2 separate regions of the Homo sapiens genome follow, and region 1 is linked to region 2. The links are contacts of gene promoters, found by promoter capture Hi-C in human tissues and cell types (Jung and others, 2019). All regions are on one chromosome and are shown on one strand. Each heading gives the region's core, a stretch centred on a gene start or on the middle of the fragment in contact. The rest is flanking DNA. Distances are from core to core; before and after follow the strand shown.

Region 1 (4,536 bases), core at 575-3,074, 220 kb before region 2:
AAATGAAAGAATATTTGAGCTTAAGAGGCCCTTAGAGGTCACCTTGTCTGGATACTTCCTTTTACTGCTAGGCAATATGGCTTTATAGTCAGGATCCTGGACCTCAAGTTTCTGGGCCTCAGTCTCCTTATCCCTAAAATAAAGATAATAGTGATACTGACATAACAGAGGTGTTGTGAAGATTGAATGAGATGATGCAAGGGAAGCTCTTAGAAGAGCACTGGGCACACAGTAAACAGCCAATAAATATTAGCTGTAATCATTGGAGGCCCAGGGGAGAAGGGACTTGCTCAAGATCACACAGCAACTCAGAGGCAGAGCTGGGGTTAGACCAAGGACGCCTGCCTCCCAGCCTGGGCCCTTTCCCATTCCACTCTTCCCTCTGTCTTCCTCAGAAAAAGAAAATAGTCCCAGAGGGAACCAGGATACTTTTCTCACTGAATCATTTAGGATGCAAGGAAGAGGTCACCTGCTTTAGAGTGGCTTAAACTTTTTATTTTTTAATGAGGCCAGAAGAAGTTGGAATGAGGATTGGTCTGCTGATTCAACAATGTCTTTGATGACCCAGGCATTTCCCATTCTGAGCCTCGAGGGTGACTACCCCTGTGATTGCAAGATGACTGAGTGCCATCAGGAACCATGTCCTCCCAAGCAGGGAGAAAGGGCATGGTAGCAAAAAGGGTATTCTCCCTTCACATCATTCTCTTATCCAGGAGAGAAGCTTTCCCAGCAGACTATCCCCAAACATGTCATTGACTAAGACGAGGTCACATGTCTACTCTTGGACCACTTTCTGGCAAAGGGGAAGGCATTTCCATTGCTGCCTTGGATCATCCCTGTGGCTGAGCACCTTGCTACCAGAATGAAGAAGAGAGCATTTGCCATGGGAAGGCAACCAATACAACCTGCCATACTCATCTTCTGTTTTCTCTCTGGATTGCCCTCCTACCTCCTCTCCATCTCCGCCAGGAAGTCTTCCCTGGTTGCCAGGGCCTTGTCCGGCACACCCTCTTCTAATGTAATTGAACATTGTTTAATTCAAGTTACATTTCACTTTGCCAAAGATTTCTCACCTTATCATGTCCAGATCTTATCTTCTCAACCAGGCTGTGATAGGTCATTGCAAGAGTTATAGCAGCGACTAATGAATAAGTACCTACTGTGTGTCAGGCACTGGTCTGAGTGCTTGTTGTAGCCAGCTTCCAAATGGCTCCCAATGATCCATACCCCCTGGTATTCATGCCTTTTTGTATTCCCCTCCCACATTATACCAGGGTTTGTCTACATGACCAAGAGAATATGGCAAAAGTTACGGTATGTTTCTTCCAATATTAGATCATAAAAGGCACATGGAATCAAAGCTTTTGGTCAACTGCCAACAAGGTACAGAGGCCCAACAGCAATCATCGAATGAACTTGGAAGTGGATCCTCTCACCCCAGTTGAGCCTTCTGATGACTGCAGCCCTGGCTGATGCTTGACTACAACTTCATCAGAAATCCTCATGAAGATCCAGCACCTTCCAGTTAGCCCATCTGTGGGTTCTTGACCCTCAGAAATTCTATGAGATAATAAATATTTGTTGTTTTAAGTTGCTAAACTTTGGGAAAATTTATTTTTTGGTTTTGGGGGGTTTTTTGAGGCAGGGCCTTGCTCTGTTACCCAGACTGGAATGCAGTAGTACAATCACTGCTCACTGCAATCTTGACTTCCTGGGCTCAAGCAATCCTCCCACCTAAACCTTACAAGTAGCTGAAACTACAGGTGTGGGTGCTACCACCCTTGGCTAAGTTTCTTTTTATTATTATTATTATTTTTTGGAGAGATGGGGCCTCACTGTGTTGCCCAGGCTGGTCTCAAACTCTGGGGCTCAAGTGATCCTCCTGCCTCAGTCTCCCAAATGGCTGGGATCACAGGTTTGAGCCACTGTGTCAGCCAGAAAATTTATTACTCAGTAGTAGATTACTATATTGCTACTTTATCACATTAAATCCTCTCAACGATTCTGATAGGTGAAGCTTATTTATCCCTTTTACAGATGAGAAAACCAATGCTCCGATGAGTGCAGTGACTTCCCATGCCTGGTAAGTGGCAGAGCTTGGATTGACCTTCCTGTCTGTTGGATTCCAAAGCAGAGGGACCTGGGTTCTGTTTTCCCAGCTGGAATGTCCCCAGCTGCAGGATGAAGGCTGAGGAAATGGGGACATAAAAAGGAAACCTCTTTCTCTGATGTGTTTTCTCTCCTCCCCCCTTTTTTCATCCCAACCACATTAGTTAGCACTTACTACATCTATTGTACATATGTGATTCAGGGACAAGTAGGTTTATTAGCAACAACATGGGAGCCTTAGGAGGGGGATACCTGGGCTCTTGAGTGACCTTGGGCAAGTTTCTGCACTTTTCTGGGCCTCAGTTTCTTTACCTACTACATGGCAATAATAATCCCTTTCCTGCCTTCTTCACCAGGAAACCATGAGGACGGGGTGTAAAGGGACTGTGTAAAATGTGAAATGTAGTGAACACTAAAAGGTGTGTTTGGACTAAGGAGCACCCCTGACCTAGGGCTCAGACCTGTACAGCCACCTCTGTACAGAGGTGAGGGCTCCCTCTCCTCTCTCACCTGGGGCTAGGTTCGGGAGGTGGACAACACTGAGTGGCATTGAGAGCATCAACCCACTTTCTTCAGCCTCACCCTCTCCATGCCTTCTCTCTTAGGCCATGCTGCAGCCCTGCTAAACTAGTGGAAATACCCCAAGCCTGCCAGGAGGTTTCTGTCTACTTTGTCTGTGCAGTTTCTTCTGCCTTGACACCCTTCCCAACTTCTCTTCCTGGTGCATTCCCACTCGTCTTTCAAGACTGACCTTAGATATCCCACTTCTAGGATGCCTCTCCTGACCTGGCTGTAGTCCTCCTACTTCTCTTGATTGTTGCACCTGCCCCCTGCCTGAGCTCTTGGCCTTCAGCTTCTCTTTTCCACTCAAAGCCCCCATGGTGCAACCAGCGGCCTTTCCAAAATGCAAATCTTGTCATGTCACTCCCTGCTTAAAATAACTGGCCAATGGAATAATCCATCAATCAGTGCTTCAGGGGTTCCTCCTTGCCCTCAGGGAAGCATCCACACCTTCAGCTGGGTCTCCATGCTTGGTCCCTGCTGGTCTTTCCAGCCTCTGCTCTCTTCTGTCTCCTGATTGCCCTGCACATGCAGTGCCCTCCAGCCACATTGCTCTTGTCACTGTATCTCAGACACACCTCTCTCTATCTTTGCTCGTCCTGTTGTTTTTCCTGCCCATTTCCACCTTGTCCACTTGAGGAAGTCCTGCCTAATCCTTAACACCAGGTCTGATATAACCTCTTGGAAGCCTTCCCTATTGGCCCCAGGAAGAGTCCTTGGCTTCCTCTTCTTCCCTCTCCTGTATGACTACTCATGCTTTTGTTACTGTTTGTCGTCTGTTTACACTGAGAGTTTCCTGAGTAGAGACTGTATCTGACACATGGTTGTGTCCCCAGCAATGCCAGGAGAAGGGCACAGAGCAGACATGTAGGATATGTGTTGCTCATGTGAGTGGCTGAATGAATGAAGGAAGGAAGGGTGAATGAATCCAACCTTGAACCATCACTTCTTGGCCAGCCCTAGAACTGCTGTTTCCCAGGGTAAGCCCATTTGATAGCCAAAGGGGAAGTAGAAGGGAGGGACTGCTCTAGGAGGGAGAAAGAAAATCAATAAAAATGTAAATCTGGTTGAGAAAAGCTGTCCCAAGCTGGCTGTGGGGAGAGATAAGACTGGGCTGGCTGAGCCCTGGCTGACAGTGGAGGAGAGATTGGGGACAACGGAGCTGTGGCCAGGGTAGGGCAAAGGAGGTGTGTTCCTCCCTCTGTTGTCACTTCCCCCTCCGACTCTGATGCTCTATGTGTTTATGAAATTTTTTCAGGGACAGAAGGGGAAGGGAGCTTACAAATCCTGATCATCAGGTGTGGTGCCTGTGAGCATGTACATGATCTTACCCGGTCCTCACAGCTTCTGGGAGATAGGAGCTAGGCATGCTCAACCTCACTTGCAGGTGAGCAAACTGAGGTGCAGAGAGGTTAAATCATTTGTTCATCGTCACACTGTAATAAGTGGCAGAGTCAAGATTTGATCCCAAGTCTGACTCTCTCCACAACTCTATAATCTTTTCACTCCATTAAGGGCTTTTGACTGGGGACCTGGGATGCTTAGGAGGTCTACACCCAGGCATCATATGGTCTTCAACCTCTGAAATCATATGCACAATTGTGTATATGTCTCTGTGTGTGTGTTTTGTTTTATATTTAGTGGAGAGTCTATGCCTTTGATTGGATCCCCAGAGGTGGTTTTCACTTGCCCCCCATTGCCTATACCATGTTGCCTTCCTGGAGTTGGTGGCCTTTGAGCTGGGCCTGGAAGATTGGGTAGGACTTTATGAAGTGGGGATGGAGAGACAAGCTGTGCGATGGGGATGAAGAAGATAACCCAGGTCAGAGGGAACAGCATAAGCAAAGGTATGTGAAGGGGAAAGAA
Region 2 (4,699 bases), core at 112-2,611:
TCTCAGCTCCATTTCTTGCTGCATGACGTTTTGATGGTTACTCAACCTCTAGGTCTTGGATTCCTTGCTTGTAAACTATGGATAATAATACCTACCTAAGCAGATCAATATGAAGAACCACTCAAAAGTGTTTTATAAATTTTAAACTGCTGTTTTAATAGGTGTCTTTAATTATAAATTTTGATGTCCTCACAATTTCATTTATGCTTTATTATCACTATAACAATTAGAGCCATTAATTTTTGTAATTATGCTGATCGTGTTGATGACAGAAGTAATATAGATGGTGATTCTGGCATTGCCACCCAAAACGTTTCACACAAATCAGGTGCTGGAAACGGGATAGAAAATAATCAGATATGGGCCTGCTCTGGGGTTCATTTAAGCAGAGAATTCAAATGATTACTTGCTGCTCGATATAATCACTTTCCCATCAAGTCCTTCCCGCTTTCTTACTGGGAGAGAGTATAGCCTAGCATGGACTCTGAAGTCTGACTTATCTTTGACACTTACTAGCAAGTCACTTTACTTCTGAGCTTCAGTTTCCTCACTTATAAAATGGAGATAATACCGCCTACTTCTCAGACTATAATAATGTAATTCCACAGCCTCCAACTAACCCAATGAGCCTCCAGTGAATCCCAGGAGGCCTTCCTATCTCATTTATTCACTCCTAACAAGTAATATTTAAGGAGCACCTACCACGTGCCAGACCTTTGAAGATCTGTAGTCTAAACCCTCTCATGGTATAGATGGGAAAACTCGGGCCCGGGATGGGGACAAAGCTTACTGAACGCCACTCCACAGTAAAATCTGGACCAAGACCCAGGTCTCCTAAGTTGAAACTGAAGCTCAGGGCTCTTTCTGCCGCCCAGAGACCTTTGGTAAGCAGGGCTTTTCCAGTCTCAGTTCCCTTTCATCTCTGGAGTGATAATTCTGAGGTTTAAGTTCGGCTTCTGTGAGAACGAATAAAAATAGGACTAGCCAAGAATTCTCTGGCCAGGTCAGATCCTAGCCGACTAGGTGGCTCTGTCTCAATAATCCAAGGCTGGATTTCCCAAACGCAGATGGTCTTGCTCAACCTGTCCCCACAGTTGAGTCCTCCTCGGGGAGCTCTCCTGTCTCCCAACCCCGCTCACCTGCACTGGACCCCGGCTCCTCCGTCTCTGTCGGGGCAGAGCTGGACGCCGGGGATTCTTCCATGGGGCGCGGGGGCAGGTCCGCAGGTCTCATTCGCCGAAGCCCGGAAGAGGCACCGGCCCCAAGGCTGGGGAGACTGAGACAGAGGAGGATAGAGAGGGAGAAACAACTGAGACGGAGGACACGGAGACAAGCCCCGAGAAGCGAAGAGCGTGTCGACTGCCGGAAACAGGTAACGGCAACGAAAAGAGGCGGGCGCAGGCTGTAGTCAGTGGCGGTTGGGGCCAACCGTTGGCCTACTCCGCGAGCCCTCCCCGTCCCGCCCCCTCGGCGCTGCCCCTCCCTCCAGCCCGCAGCTCGGTCCCCACCACGGCGTGGGACCGGCACCACCTCCACCCTCGCCAACTCAGCTCAAGCCCTGGGCCCACCTCAGTTCCCAACGGCCGCCTCCTCTCTTCAGTGCCACAGCCCCGAGCTCTTATATTGGTCTGTAGCTCGGTATCACCGCCTAAAGCTTCCCTGGACAGCCTGAGAGTTGAGCAAAGGTTCCCGGCCTCAGAGGGTACCCTACAAAAAGGACCAGAGGTCCAGAGCATTGGCTACTCTCCTTGCAAAATATGAAAATGAAAATATATTCATATATATAATTTATGTGTGTGTATATACACACATTTACATACATAGATTTGTCACATAGCACTGAGTCCATTCTTCTGTTTCACAGTACCGGAATTTAAGCCCCCCTCTCCCCAGCCAAAGAGGAAAGGACTGATCTAAGGTCATTTTTTATCTGGGACTAAGTACAACGTAAAGGTAATAGGCTGGGCCTGGTGGCTTATGCCTACAATCTCAGCGCTTTGGAAGGCCTACGTGGGAGGATGCCTTGAGCCCAGGAGTTGGAGGCTGTGGTGAGCTGTGATTGCACCACTGCACTCCAGCCTGGGTGACAGAGCGAGACCCTGTCTCTAAAATATAACAATTTTAAAAAGAAGAAATTTTACAAACGCCAATAAAAGGAAAGACAGACTGCTAACTTAGAGGACATAAAAATGTAAAGCTTCTGTAAATTTGAATTCGTGATATTTTTCTCATTAAAAAAAATCCTGTGCTGAGGCAGGGAACATACAAGATGAGCCTGGAACATCGTGGTGCCACAAGGAAAGAACTCACAAAATGATGAGGGTTCTTTGAAAGAACATAGGTGCCAACCTCAATACAACCTGCTGTATTTTTCTAAAAAAAAAAAAAAAAAAAAGAAAAAAAAAAAGGCCTAGAACCAGAGACCAACTCATCGTAATAAGCCCAAATAATGGGTCTTTTTTATTTTTATTTTTATTTTTTGAGATGGAGTGTGTCTCTGCCGCCCAGGCTGGAGTGCAGTGGCGTCATCTTGGCTCACTGCAAGCTCCGCCTCCCGGGTTCACGCCATTCTCCTGCCTCAGCCTCCCGAGTAGCTGGGACTACAGGCGCCCACCACCACGCCCGGCTAATTTTTTGTATTTTTTATAGAGACGGGGTTTCACCATGTTAGCCAGGATGATCTCGATCTCCTGACCTCGTGATCCGCCCGCCTCGGCCTACCAAAGTGCTGGGATTACAGGCGTGAGCCACCGCGCCTGGCAATAATGGGTCTTAAAATACTATTTTGTCCCCAAAGGAACCAGGGTTCCATGAAAAAAATGGCTGATTTTAGGTGCAGGGAAGAAAATTTATAAGATTAGCCTAGAACATCTTAACAGAAAGCAAGAAAGCCATAAAAGACTATTTCAGGTCATGTCAAAAGAAGGTAAGAATCAATTTGAAGGTGATTCCACTGGCCAAATATGGAAAAATTAGAACATCAAAAAGAACAAGGACTGCAAAGAAAGTTCATATCGACATATGGAGAAAAATGTCACTTTGGTCACCTCAGAGTTTGCTAAGGAAAGCAGCTTTTTATTCTGCCTTTCCTGTACAAACCCTATTTCTGGGTAACTAAATAGTTGATGGGGAAAAGTTCTCCTTCATAAAATAATTAACTGACCAATGCCAAATGAATGATAGAATTTCATCATTTTGTCCTTTAATGACAAAATGAATTTAATGAATCTAGACAGCAATTATCAATAGCTACTAAAAGCTACACCCTTATTGCTCACCTTTTCTTCCCTTCCTACTTTCCCACCTCATTATGGCACTCCCTGCATCTCTCACATATACTATTGCCCTCAGGTCCTGGTCTCAGAACTTGCCTCTGGGAGAACTCAAATAAAGACCCTATACCAGGAGATAAGAACAACAAAACAGTAATGAGTTAAGGATCTAACTTAAGAATGTAGAAAAGGAAGAACAGAATAAATCCCAAAAAGGTAGAAAAGGAAATGATGAAAATAAGAACAGAATAAATGAAACAAGAAGCAAAGTACAATAGAGGGGACTGACAAAAGCAAATATTAGTCTTGACATATCTAATAAACCGGACAAACCCTCTGGCAAGACTCATTTTTAAAAGTTATAAATGATATTAATGAAAAGGAGACTATATGCAGGGATACAACAGAGATGAGAAATAAATATTAAACAAACTTTATTCCTTAAGTTTGAAAATCTAGATAAAGTTAATACAGTTTTAGAAAAAGTTACCAAACTAAGATATGGAAAATGTGAAGTCTTACAACTATTTAAAAATCTAAATCAGTATTTTAAAATCTATTCACAAAGATAACACAACTATCCCAATTATTCCAATCTTGTATTTCCTTCATTAATAGAAGGAATGTAAATTGGTACAGTCGCTTTAGAGGAAAATTTAGCAATACCTAGAAAAGTAAAAATGTATATCCTCTCCCACCAAGGAATCCCACTACCTGTATTAGATGTGTCCATACAAGAATGCTCATAGCAGCAAATGTTTAATAGTGAAAAATTATAAAAGACCTAAATGTCCATTAATAGGGTAAATAAACTGTCATGTTTAACAGTATACAGCAGTGAAATAGAATAAATTGTAGCTACAGGTATCAATCTAAATTATCTTCACAAACAAAATATTGAACAAAAAAGCAAGTTGCACAATACAGAGAGAATGGTACTTGTGCAGATTTACCATAGCAGGCCTAACAGGTTATCCTTAGGAAGGCCTGCTTGCAAGGTTGGTGTTTTTTGACAGGTGTCTGGAAACTTGGCTCTCAAAGTGTTCCCAGTCACCAGTTAACTGAAAAGGGTAGTTGACTATGTAGACTGTTTGATTGCAGTATGATTTATGGTGGATACCTGCTTGCTTTCTAGGAGTCTTTATTATGTGCTAGGCAGATGGTGCCCACATGACCAAACCTCAATAAACTGTGGGTACTCTCTAATGGGCTCCCTGGACAGAAACATTACACACGTGTTGCTGCATTTTTGTTGTTGGGGCAAAGTGGGCTCTTTGCAATCCCTCATGGGAGGAAGAGCATAAGGAAGCCTGCAAATGGATTCCTCCAGACTCTGCCAGTGTCCTTTTCCCTTATGATCCAGATGTGTCCTTATTTTATCGAAGAATAAATCTTAGTCATATATGCTGAGTCGCGTGGGTCCTTCT

The links. Contacts are between HindIII fragments. The study calls those that stand out against the background at their distance.
Region 1: a fragment that was not itself captured here is called in contact with the fragment with the promoter of NEU3 in region 2 in 2 of the 25 tissues and cell types used here (dorsolateral prefrontal cortex and mesenchymal stem cells).

The regions. Positions count from the first base shown.
Region 1 is chr11:75,207,909-75,212,444 of GRCh38, reverse strand. It overlaps TPBGL-AS1 (TPBGL antisense RNA 1), which reads left to right. Exons shown (of 6, transcript XR_950308.4): 5 at 2,038-2,083; 6 at 4,312-4,536. It overlaps LOC124902716 (a long non-coding RNA gene), which reads right to left and starts at 1,622. Exons shown (of 2, transcript XR_007062782.1): 1 at 1,437-1,622. The HindIII fragment of the contact is 3,195 bases long and covers 227-3,421 here.
Region 2 is chr11:74,985,595-74,990,293 of GRCh38, reverse strand. It overlaps NEU3 (neuraminidase 3), which reads right to left and starts at 1,361. Exons shown (of 3, transcript NM_006656.6): 1 at 1,140-1,361. The coding sequence starts at 1,233. RefSeq lists enhancers at 1,092-1,281, 1,562-1,611. The HindIII fragment of the contact is 16,586 bases long and covers 1,221-4,699 here.